3 separate regions of the Homo sapiens genome follow, and regions 2 and 3 are each linked to region 1. The links are contacts of gene promoters, found by promoter capture Hi-C in blood cells and fetal thymus (Javierre and others, 2016). All regions are on one chromosome and are shown on one strand. The core of a region is centred on a gene start or on the middle of the fragment in contact, and the rest is flanking DNA. Distances in the headings are between cores, read along the strand shown. Region 1 holds the start of ARHGEF28 (Rho guanine nucleotide exchange factor 28). Region 2 overlaps ARHGEF28 (Rho guanine nucleotide exchange factor 28). Region 3 overlaps ARHGEF28 (Rho guanine nucleotide exchange factor 28).

Region 1 (3,746 bases), core at 712-3,211:
TATAAGAACACAATAAGAAAACATTCCAAACTCTTCTGCAGTACTCACATAATTAAAAAAAAAAAGTATGAAACCCACCCAAGTGAGGCTTCTGAGACATTTCATAGAAACTTAGTTATTAACTACTATTTTTCTTCTTTACCTTTAAGTGTTTATAAACTGCTTAAAGGACAGTTGGGTACTTCAGAGGAAAGTCTAATGACACGCCTGCTATACAACCTGTTCTTAGTTGGCCAGATTGTGTGGTTTTGATAAGGAAAAAAAAAAAGTCAAAAGCAGGACAAACACTGATTCTCTGTTCTCCATTCTCCCATTACCCAAGACATTCATCTGAGTCACACACTCTATAGCTAGCTCTGAGCCTCAGTTTCCCTAACCATTAGCTATAAGATCTGATGCTAGCCAAATTCCTATTTGATCAAAGTTAATCAGCCCAATAATCACATATAGAGTCCACATCAGAACATTACATTGAAATACTATGTTGTATTAAAAATTCCAAAGGGTTTTGCCATATTCATCTCTTTTCTGCAAATACTCCAAAGGGGTTACTTTGGCTATTAATCAAGATTAGGCAAATACCCATGTGCTTTAGGAATGTGTAACTAAAAACCCAGGACAGATCTAGAGAAACCTTCCCAGGTTTCCCAGAAGTCATCACTACGCTTGGATTGTCATGTACAAAGTAGATGCCACAGAACCTAACAAGGGTAGGTCCTTGATTTGTTTTTGCAGTGAAAACAGGATTTCACTTACACCTGACAGCTTCAGGGCCTAGGAACACAAGATAACAACGCTTCAGAAAGCCAGGGGCCCCATGGAACCCCAAATGATCAGTTCTTTATAAACGAAAATTAAAGATCTTACTTTCTTTGGATTTTGCCCAATTGGTGTGGTCCGTGGTGAACCTCTATAACTCCTGGTGTGAGGAGATGTGTGGATACCCAGGCAGGGGTCAAGGCGGGAGAAGCCGCACAAACACAGATGTTGCCACTGTTCCTCGGCCCACCCAGCCAACCAATGCGGGGACGCTGTGGGCCTATAGAGATGGATTCTTTCTTAGAAATCTAACTGGTCTCTGGGAAACCAAAGCTGGGTATCCAGGGCCGCCTGAGCACCCAGTTTCCATACAGCCCTCGACCCAAATGGTGCTTTCTTGGCCAAACACCGGCCTGTCATTCGGAAAACCTAAGCACGGGAAGGCTGGGGCACCACCACATACACCCCGGGTATTTAAGGGGAAACAAATCCATAAAATAAGCGTAAGGAGTCCCACATAATTCTGACCACCTTTCCCAACCAAGGTAACCATAAATGCCTTTTGAAACACAGCAGATGCTTCCACACGAGTAAGTGGTAGTGCGTGTGTCCTGAGCTTGCGTTCCGTCTGCATTCTGCGGTCCTGGCCCTGCCAAGCACCCTCAGTCCCGGAGCTGAAGCATGGATGGGAAGGGCGGACACCAACTCTCGACGTTCTCCCTTCTCCACCGCAGGAGTGCTGTTTATTTCCCTGTCTCCCGAAGGACACTGGCGGGGCTTTCACCCGCCCAGCCCCCGGCTCTCAGTGCGCCCGAGCGACCCCGCGCTCCGCAGCTGCCGCCGCCGCACGAGGCTGCGCCGCCCTCTCCACTTGTTGCCGCTCCCGAGGGAGCGGGAGGCGGCGCCCAGCCCTCGCGCCGCAGCGCCTGCAGCGGTTCCCCGGTCACCTCTGCTGACCCTCGCATCCCTGGGGACCCTGGAGAAAGTGGCCCTGCGGATGCGAACTCAGGTGGACAAACTTTTCCGCCCAGAGCTGCAGGGAAACGCAGACGATGGAGTCCCAAAGAGCATTTACCTGGAGCGATGGCCCCGCAGCCTCCAGAACCCAGGCGAGGCTCTGCCCCCGCGCCCTGCCTGAGGGCGCCTCGGAACGCGCCCCCAGCCAGCCGCCGCCCGGAGTCCGGAAGGCTCTCCCCGGCGATGCCAACGCCTGGCGGCGGCCGGGCTGAAGCCAAGGTTTAGGGGGTGGAGCCGCGGCCGCGCGCCCGGGCCCGGCTGGCTGCGCCAGCAGCGGGTGCCGCCCCCGCTCCCCCCGCTCCCCCCGCGCCTCCCCGCTGCCACTGGATCCCCGCCTGCCCACCTCCCGGCCCGGCTCGCGGCGGCCGCATCACATGGCGAGGCCCGCCCGCCGGCCGCGCCCGACACCGGCTCCAGGAGGAAACCTGAAGCTGCCCCTACCGCGCTGTCTCCGCCAGCCCCCTCCCGCTGCGGGGCTGCGGCCGTTGGCCTCCGGAGATCGGAGGCGCGGAGGCTGGCGCGGACCTGGCGGGCCACAGGAGTGCCAGTTGCGCCCCGGGCGCCCCCACGCCTTGGCGCCTCCCGAGGGAGGCGCTGGGCTGCCCGCTCGCGAAAGGAGTTGTGCCAGGCCCGAGGGAGGCTCAGGCTGTTCCCAGCCAAAAGCCACCACACCCGTGACATAATACGGCCCGGGTCTATTACAATAGGAAATATTATTTTTAAAAACAGCATTTGCCCTCTTATTTGAAGCTCATGTTCCCTGGCCGAGAGCTTTGCAAGCTGCGATTCCCTTCACGTTTATGCACGCAAGTGGCTGCAAGTCTTAATTCAAAAACGTATGAAAACCATAACCACTTTTACAATGAACAGCAATGTGAAGGGACTTCCTTATCCTCCAAAGCAGTTTTCCTCTTAGATGTGATGACAGCCCCAAGAGCAGAAGCCAAGCCTCTTCATCAGCCAGGCTCTCATATACAGACTTAAGACCATTATTGCAGCTTTAAAGGTAAAATTGCCCATCTGAGACTGCTGTGGCAGTAAGTGTTATAGTTAAGACTATTTGTAAGGAAATTAGTATTGAAATATAAAGTTTCTAATAAAATTTATAAAATCACCTTGAGTCTCTGCTTTGTTTTTCCTTTGAAGACTGGCTACGCACAGAACCATAACAAAGGTGTGGCCCGAGGAAGCTGGCCACCAAGATCCCAAGCCAGAATGGAGCCCAGCTCCCAGGCTGCCACCACCACTTCTCCTGGGCCTGGGCCTTTTCTGTCTCCCTTCCAGCCGCCACCTTCCCCAGCCCACCTTGCTGATACGAATGCTGAGAAAGGCTGAGATTAGCAAGAGAAAGACCATCGTGTGTCTGAATGCCTTAGCCCTGTTCCAAGGCAAAGGCTGCAATTCCGCCTTGGGAAAGGGACCCCAACACTGGCATTGCACTCCTGACCTGGGCTGTCATCCCAGCTGATTCCACCCTCAGCCCCACAGAGCTGTGAACTCAAGGCCTGGCCTCAGGCGCTGCCACAAAAAAAAAAAAAGAAAAAAAAAATATATATATATATCCTGCCCAGTGTCAAGGTACACAAGATAAAAATAAAAGCAATAATATTCTTTTCAAAAATAGAAAAAATTTTGAGCAGGGCGTGGTGGCTCACACCTGTAATCCCAGCACTTTGGGAGGCTGAGGCGGGTGGATCACCTGAGGTCAGGAGCTCGAGACCAGCCTGGACAACATGGTGAAACCCCGTCTCCACAAAAACACACAATTTAGCTGGGTGTGTTGGTGCGTGCCTGTAATCCCAGCTACTCGAGAGGCTGAGGCAGGAGAATCACTTGAACTGAAGATTAACTGAATCAACATGCCAGACAAAAATGGTTTCCAAACTCTGGTGAATAAACATGGTGATGTGTTAGAAGCCTTTGTTGTTATTGTCCTTTTTCATATCACTAGTACTGAAGCCCTCTTTTTC
Region 2 (3,364 bases), core at 205-2,704, 130 kb before region 1:
GATATTCCTTGGTTACTGTCATTTTTTAAATTCAGCTTTAATCCTCTGCGTGCAAGCAAAAACTGCTATATGCATCCTGCTACGTTTTAAGGGGAGAAAAGCCCCAGAGGAGGTAAGCCAGGAATGGGACTTCAAAAACCTTCTACAGTCCCGAATCCTTTGGGAAGCACATTGGGTAGGCTGTTTGCTTCCATTTACATTTTTTGTTCTTGAAAATTATAATTGAGGGAGAGAGAGTGACCGGAATCCAACTCTACGTTCTATTTCCCAGAAGTGGGAGTAAGTGCGTAATTCTCTATTCCAGTATAAGGGCCATTGTTGCCAGACAAAAGTAGGAAGCTTATTTTTTAAGGAAGAGTTAAGCTGCTGTTTCTTATTTAACATGTAGTACCTTAAACAGAGAATGTGTTCAATAAGAGTTTACCTACTTAAACTGAAAAATGAATTCAAATGATTGGGGGGAGAGGAGTCCTTTTCCTTAGAAGTTTAATTCTATATTAAATTCTTTACTGCCAGAAAACATATTCCTCAAAAATTAAAAACTACAAAAGGAATGTAAGACAAAGAAGACATTTTAAAATTAAGGATTTAAAGCTTCACAAATAATATACATATATATAGCTGAGAACTGTAAAACAATTTTATCGATTTACCATCATAACAAGTGCCATAGGATCTAAAGAACATTCTCTCCACCCCTAGTGTTCATCCAGTGGGTTGCCTTAGCAACAGAAGGAGTATACTACCAGCTTGAAATGTCAGAAAAGGTGTAGAGATGTTTGTCCCATTAGATACTATCAGAATTGACAGAAGGCTAGACAGCAATACTGAGTGTGTACACAACCCCTTGAAAAATGTCAAGATTTCCAAGAGAAACATACAAAACCCCTGAATCAGTTGTTACCCATAATGTATTGATTTCAAAACTTAAAAAAAAAAAAACACTGGAAACTTGTATTTCTTGTATTTTGTAATAAATCTGTCCTTTATGGGTTTCCTACCCACTGGTGTTTCAGCTAATGTTATTTCAAACTTGCTGTCCAGTACAGAGCTTTATGGCAGAGTAACAAAGCTGACATTTTACTTCATCTGTGGGCCAGCAAGTAAGTCTTATAAATCAGTTTGCCCTTCTCTGGTTAGTAAGACCTGGACACAGTGCAGTCATCAGGCCAACCCACAGTGCCAGGCTCTGGGGCCTTGCTCTATTTTCTTTCTATATCTACAGCCAGCAGACAGTATTCAAAGATAAAACCACAAGCCACGCTCCATTTCAAACATTAAACAAATCTTGCTTCCTACTGGCTACAGATCTCTTTTCTGTATTCAAAGAAAGAGAAACAGATATTTTTCTCTGTCAAACATTGCTAGGCCACATATTCCCTTCTCTTGTTGCCTAGAAGTTTCAGGGTATGTGGCTTGAAGCAAGATGTGGCTGTCACATAAAATGAGTAGTTCCCATCCACTCTTTTGTAATGAACTGTTAATTCCTATGTAATGGCTTTTCCTGCAGATAAGAAGCAATATTAAAACTGCTTTTTAAACTTAAGTGAACACCGAACAATCAAGACACATTTTAAGAACTGCTGGACCAAACATCTACTGTTCCCCAAAAAGCTATTGAATTAAAAATAATAATAAATTTAGGGGAAAAAAAGAACTGCTAGATAACCCTAACTCTTATAAACGTCTTCTAAAGTCCTTTCGGGCCTCTGTATTTCTTTTCCTTTTCTTTCCATTATGTGTAAAGCATAGAAAAACAAACATTCTCCTTCAAAAGGAACTAATTTATGAAGACCCTATTCAGGCAAGAGCAGAGCGTTATACTAACGACCCTTCTCCATAGTAAGAGCATCACATTACTTTACCTATACATTACATGTGTGGGCCATGACAAGGTTTTCTATATTTCCTTTAACTTACTACTCATTATGCTGTGACTTGTACTTGGATTTGTCCTTGAAACTAACAAATCATTTCTCTAATTTCTGGATTCAAGTTTAAATCTGTTGTGGTTGTTATAACTCTATTGGTGTTATTTGCAAGTTAAGGAGTGTACTCTTAATCTGACTTTTGGAAAATATTCAATTCTTAAGCCACCCTCAGTGGGTCCTGCTAGTTCCACCAATTGGTTTTCTTTGGGGACAGCTCTCCAACCAACCATGGACCCACAGAATGAGAAGCTGGATCCTCTAAATACATCAGCTGTGTTGAAGTCCAAAACATTCCTATAGAAGAGTTCCAAAAGTTCAATTGGGTTACCTTAAAATTTTCTTTCACTCATAGAACCAATCACAAAGGCAGGAGAAAAGCTTAACTCTTTAAACCTGACGAAGCAATCTGCCAGGTAATACTTTGTTTTGTTAAACACTTTAATATTTTTGCCCTGCAGATTCAATTCATGCTAGTACCTTTACAAAACCAGGTTTGGCACTTTGCGAGGCCGAGGTGGGTGAATCACTTGAGGTCAGGAGTTCGAGACCAGACTGGCCAACATAGTGAAACCCCATCTCTAAAAATACAAAAATAAGCCAGGCGTGGTAGCACACACCTGTAATCCCAGCTACTCAGGAGGCTGAGGCAGGAGAATCATTTGAATCCGGGAGGCAGAGGTCACAGTGAACCAATATCATCCCACTGCACTCCAGCCTGGGCAACAGAGTGAGACTTCGTCTCAAAAAAAAAATAAAAATAAAAAATAAACAGGTTTGGTTATGTTTTTATGATGGATATAACAAAGAATGCACCTGTTCCATAATGAGCAGAAGAACTTCTGCCTGTTAGGAGACCTTTGATCACATGAACTACTTTTACCTAGACAACTGGAAGAGTCCAAGTTCGTTTTTGAAAACAATAGTAATTTACTCTGGCAAAAAATATCTTGAGTCTTCCAAATTGTTATATATTAGTTTGTAAGTGTAAACATATGTGAGAAATATTCTTTATATGACCTCTTTGTTTTTTTAAGGAACTGGGCTTTATTTTTCTCTTAAATTAGAAATCCTAACCAGGACAAGCTCGACCTACTCCATAGGTTAGGAGAGAAGCTACTGTGTTCACAGGAACGATGCCATCTGTCTTTGGAGATACCATTTGTAGTACCCTTGGGTTCTTTACCCACATGGCAGCCCCTCACTGGTGTTGGCAAGCTTGGTGCTTGCCAGCCATATCAAGCTACTGGGAACACAAGTGGAGGGAGGTAGTTTGATGGAGCAGGAAGGTCGAGGGGGCTTTCAACTCCAAAGTCATCTGAGCATCAACACATAAAACATTAGAATGTGTTATCCCAGTTAACCTAATTGTCAAAATTATACAAATCTCTGAGAAAAGATTTCTGCTCAAAAAACAAACAAGCAAGAAACCCAAA
Region 3 (3,560 bases), core at 696-3,195, 170 kb before region 1:
CTTTAGGAGGCCGAGGCTGGCAGATCACTTGAGGTCAGGAGTTTGAAGGCGAAACCCCGACTCTACTAAAAATACAAAAATTACCTGGGCATGGTGATGGGTGCCTGTAATCCCAGCTACTCGGCAGGCTGAGGCAGGGGAATTGCTTGAACCCAGGAGGCAGAAGTTGCAGTGAGCCAAGATGGCGCCACTGCATGCCAGCCTGGCTAACAGAGCAAAACTCCATCTCAAAAAATAAAAAATAACAGATAACAAATAACAAAAGAGTGTTGAAGTGGCCTCCAGGGAGAGCCCATTTCCTATTCCAGACTGTGTCTGACCATCTGACTATTGCTCACAGCTTGCTGTCCCCTTCTCTCTCAGGTTCTTTGAAAATCTGTTATAATTTCCTTTGCAAAAACTCAGGGGACTTTATTAATTCAAAAAGTTTAAATGAACCAAAAAGAAAATGCTAGCACAACAAACACTCATCATGGTCCTTTTCATAAATCACTGGACTAAAGTTGTGCTCATTTATCTTTCTCAAATCCTTCACAGACTTAATGATGTTACTGACAAAACACTCAGACGAGGTCAGACTACTACAATTTCCGTAGCACATGCTTCTTGCTCACAAGTTTACAAGTTTGAAACTAGAGTGAGTTTTTAAAACCTGAAATTAAGATCGTCTCAGTGTTTAATACTTTTAGTAGCCTACCTCCCTCCCCCAGCAATTCATCTTAGCAAACATTCTTCAAAGCTAACATTCCCAGGAGCATGATGCAATTTGTAGCTGAGACATCCTGTGTGCGTGAGTAACAGCAATGGCCCTGACATCAGTGGCCCACAACAGCCATCTATACAGAGATGTTTGCTCTCTTTTTGCCTTCCTCTTCCCCTCTTCTGTAAGTAAATCATTACTCTTACCTTAAATAGCAAAAATATTAAGGACGTGTATATTGCTTAGTGTGGGTCTAAATTTCTGTTCCAATTTCAGTAGGGCCACATGCAGCAAGATCCTGGAAACCACCTCTGGCATGTGGCCAAGCTACTAGCAACACCATCAACCAACACCAAGGGTGCTTCCTCCTTGCTCTGCTCTACACAGCATGATTTCCGAATGGTTGTAACTGCTCTGTCGTGTGTTGGCACAGCATACCAACCACACTCCCTCAGCCTCCAGGGAGCCCCATGCACGTGTAGGCTCACGGTGACCCCGTGGGTTACCCACCTTCTCCATTAATCTCACTCTGAGCATTGATTTAGCTTTTCCTGATTTCACATCAGCTTGAGCCCTCAGTCACTACCATCAGCAACACCTCACCCCTTGCAACTTCTAAGACTGTCCTGCCCATGTGTGCCTTCCAGGTGTGTGAGATGCCTCAGCTTCACAGAACCAGAGGAAACCAACTGGAGTGGTTCGTGCTCATCTGCCTCTCACTTGTCAGCCCCAGAGGTCTTCACAGACATCCAGGTGCCCAAACTCAGCCTCTGCTGATAGCTCAGCCTGTATCTTCAAACACCCCATTAGCTTCATTATGCTCTATTCACCTCTAAGTAACTCAAGAGATAGGGCTGGGGTCCAAATTAGCCTTGAAGAAATAGAGAGTACCTGGGAGGAGATTTAGGAAGGGGTCCTCAGGGAGTTGTGAAACAGAATATTGTAATCAGATGAGAATTCCCAGGTCAGAGGGAGGAAATACCTCTACCTTGCCAAGGGTGGAGGAACACCTGGTTCCTCTGAAAGGACACTCACATCAGACTCAAATCCCAGAACAAACATCTGGTCTTTTCCTGAGCTCAGCAGTGTAGATCACATAGGCTCAGCTCCAAGGGGACCCCACTGGGCATCAAAATGGGATTTTGGTAAGCTTGGAGATTCTAGGGCCAGGTGGAATGAAGTTATGAGTCTCGGTTCCACCATCTACTCTCCACCAGTGCTTCAACTGCTTCACCTGAACCTGAGACTGGTAGTGCCTACTTCACAGAAATAACAAGGGAACATATGACAAGTCCAGAGCCAGCTTCTGGCTCAGAGTAAAACTGTTCAGGAAAAGCTTTGATTGCCTTGTTTTTTAGATTGTAAATGGAGTCTCAACCTCTAGAGTCATAGTATTACAAATGATCCTACAAATAAAATTTATCTGGATGCGTTTCAGGAAATAGATAAGGTTACCAGGAAGGAATATTTTATGTTAAAATTTACTTGCTTCTTGTCCACTCTAAACCTGGATCTGGGATGCCCCTACGAGTATAGGTAAAAGCGTTATTTCATACCCAAATCTAGGCTGTGCTGGTCTTCATGTTCATTGTGTTGAACCACCAGGCTTTTGACACGCTGGAAGAGATAAAGTCAGGTGGATTTTTAAAAAATTACATATATGCTACACTAATGTTTATTTTTGTGAACTAGAAAAACAACCTTGGAAAGCATCAATGAAAACATGTTACAAGTATCATCACATGTAAACAGAAAACTAGTCTTATACTTAATATTATTTAACAGCTAAAAGTGAGTAATGAATCTATCCCAAGCTGAAACACACCTGAAAGCTGTACACAGGTTATTTTATTCTCAGAGGACATCTCCCACATTTACTCTTGTAATCACATTGTTGTCAAATATCTATAAACATCAAACTTCAAGTAGAAATTTGTTTTGCAGAATGTATTCAATCATCTTGCATATACAACTACAACTCAGAAAGATAGCTAGGTTTGGTTATAAAGAATAGGGATTAAGAATTTGATAAAGAAAATGGGGCTGGGCACGGTGGCTCATGCCTGTAATCCCAGCACTTGGGGAGACCGAGGCGGGCAGATCACCTGAGGTCACGAGTTCGAGACCACCTTGGCCAACATGGCAAAACCCCATCTCTACTAGAAATACAAAAATTAGCCAGACGTGGTGGTGGGCGCCTATAGTCCCAGCTACTCAGGAGGGTGAGGCAGGAGAATCATTTGAACCCAGGAGGCAGAAGTTGCAGTGAGCCAAGATCGTGCCACTGTACTCCAGCCTGGGTGACAGAGCGAGGCTCCATCTCAAAAAAAAAAAAAAAAGAAAGAAAAAGAAAACAGAATTTCACATTATTCTGAAAGTGACTTGGGGCACATCCTTTTTTTAGTGTTTTTTAAACATTTTTATTACCACTAAATCTTCATTTCTACTTTATGGAAAGACGTGCAAAGAAAGAAGCAGGGAGTCATTCATTACCTTTATATCTTCCTTTTCAGCTGCTGATCTGCTGGACACTGAATTCTTAATCTCTGCAAAAGAAATAATTATCAGGATCTGCTGATGGGAGCTTTTGTTAAGAAGAACAACAACTACTAGCTGACAAGTGTAAATGAGTTGCCCAGGAGCCTTCTGCACAGAGATAGGTTTTTAGATTAGGCCTCTTAAAAATCAGCTCTCCACAGAGCAGAGTGTCTAATAACCCGACTGTCCATACTCTGGTATTATCTGTGTGGACTAAGATGGAAACAAGCCCAGGAGCTCTCACAGGAAATCCTGAAGGGGAAAAAATTATCATTAAATAAATAAATGCCCTTGATTCCAAAGGAAGGCTGCTCACTACCGC

The links. Contacts are between HindIII fragments. The CHiCAGO score rates a contact against its expected background, and 5 or more counts as called.
Region 2: a contact is called between a fragment that was not itself captured here and the fragment with the promoter of ARHGEF28 in region 1, in 1 of 17 cell types (endothelial precursors). The highest score is 5.4, in endothelial precursors.
Region 3: a fragment that was not itself captured here is called in contact with the fragment with the promoter of ARHGEF28 in region 1 in 1 of 17 cell types (endothelial precursors); the score reaches 8.3 in endothelial precursors.

What each region holds. Positions count from the first base shown.
Region 1 is chr5:73,624,411-73,628,156 of GRCh38, reverse strand. ARHGEF28 (Rho guanine nucleotide exchange factor 28) reads right to left here and starts at 1,961. Exons shown (of 36, transcript NM_001177693.2): 1 at 1,835-1,961. RefSeq lists a silencer at 2,163-2,252. The HindIII fragment of the contact is 6,049 bases long and covers 1-3,746 here.
Region 2 is chr5:73,757,883-73,761,246 of GRCh38, reverse strand. All of the region lies in intron 4 of ARHGEF28 (Rho guanine nucleotide exchange factor 28), which reads right to left. Among named protein-coding and RNA genes, the nearest start is that of ARHGEF28, 130 kb to the right of the region's middle. The HindIII fragment of the contact is 1,715 bases long and covers 597-2,311 here.
Region 3 is chr5:73,794,088-73,797,647 of GRCh38, reverse strand. ARHGEF28 (Rho guanine nucleotide exchange factor 28) reads right to left here. Exons shown (of 36, transcript NM_001177693.2): 8 at 3,194-3,246; 9 at 2,257-2,317. Among named protein-coding and RNA genes, the nearest start is that of ARHGEF28, 170 kb to the right of the region's middle. RefSeq lists an enhancer at 408-1,607. The HindIII fragment of the contact is 186 bases long and covers 1,853-2,038 here.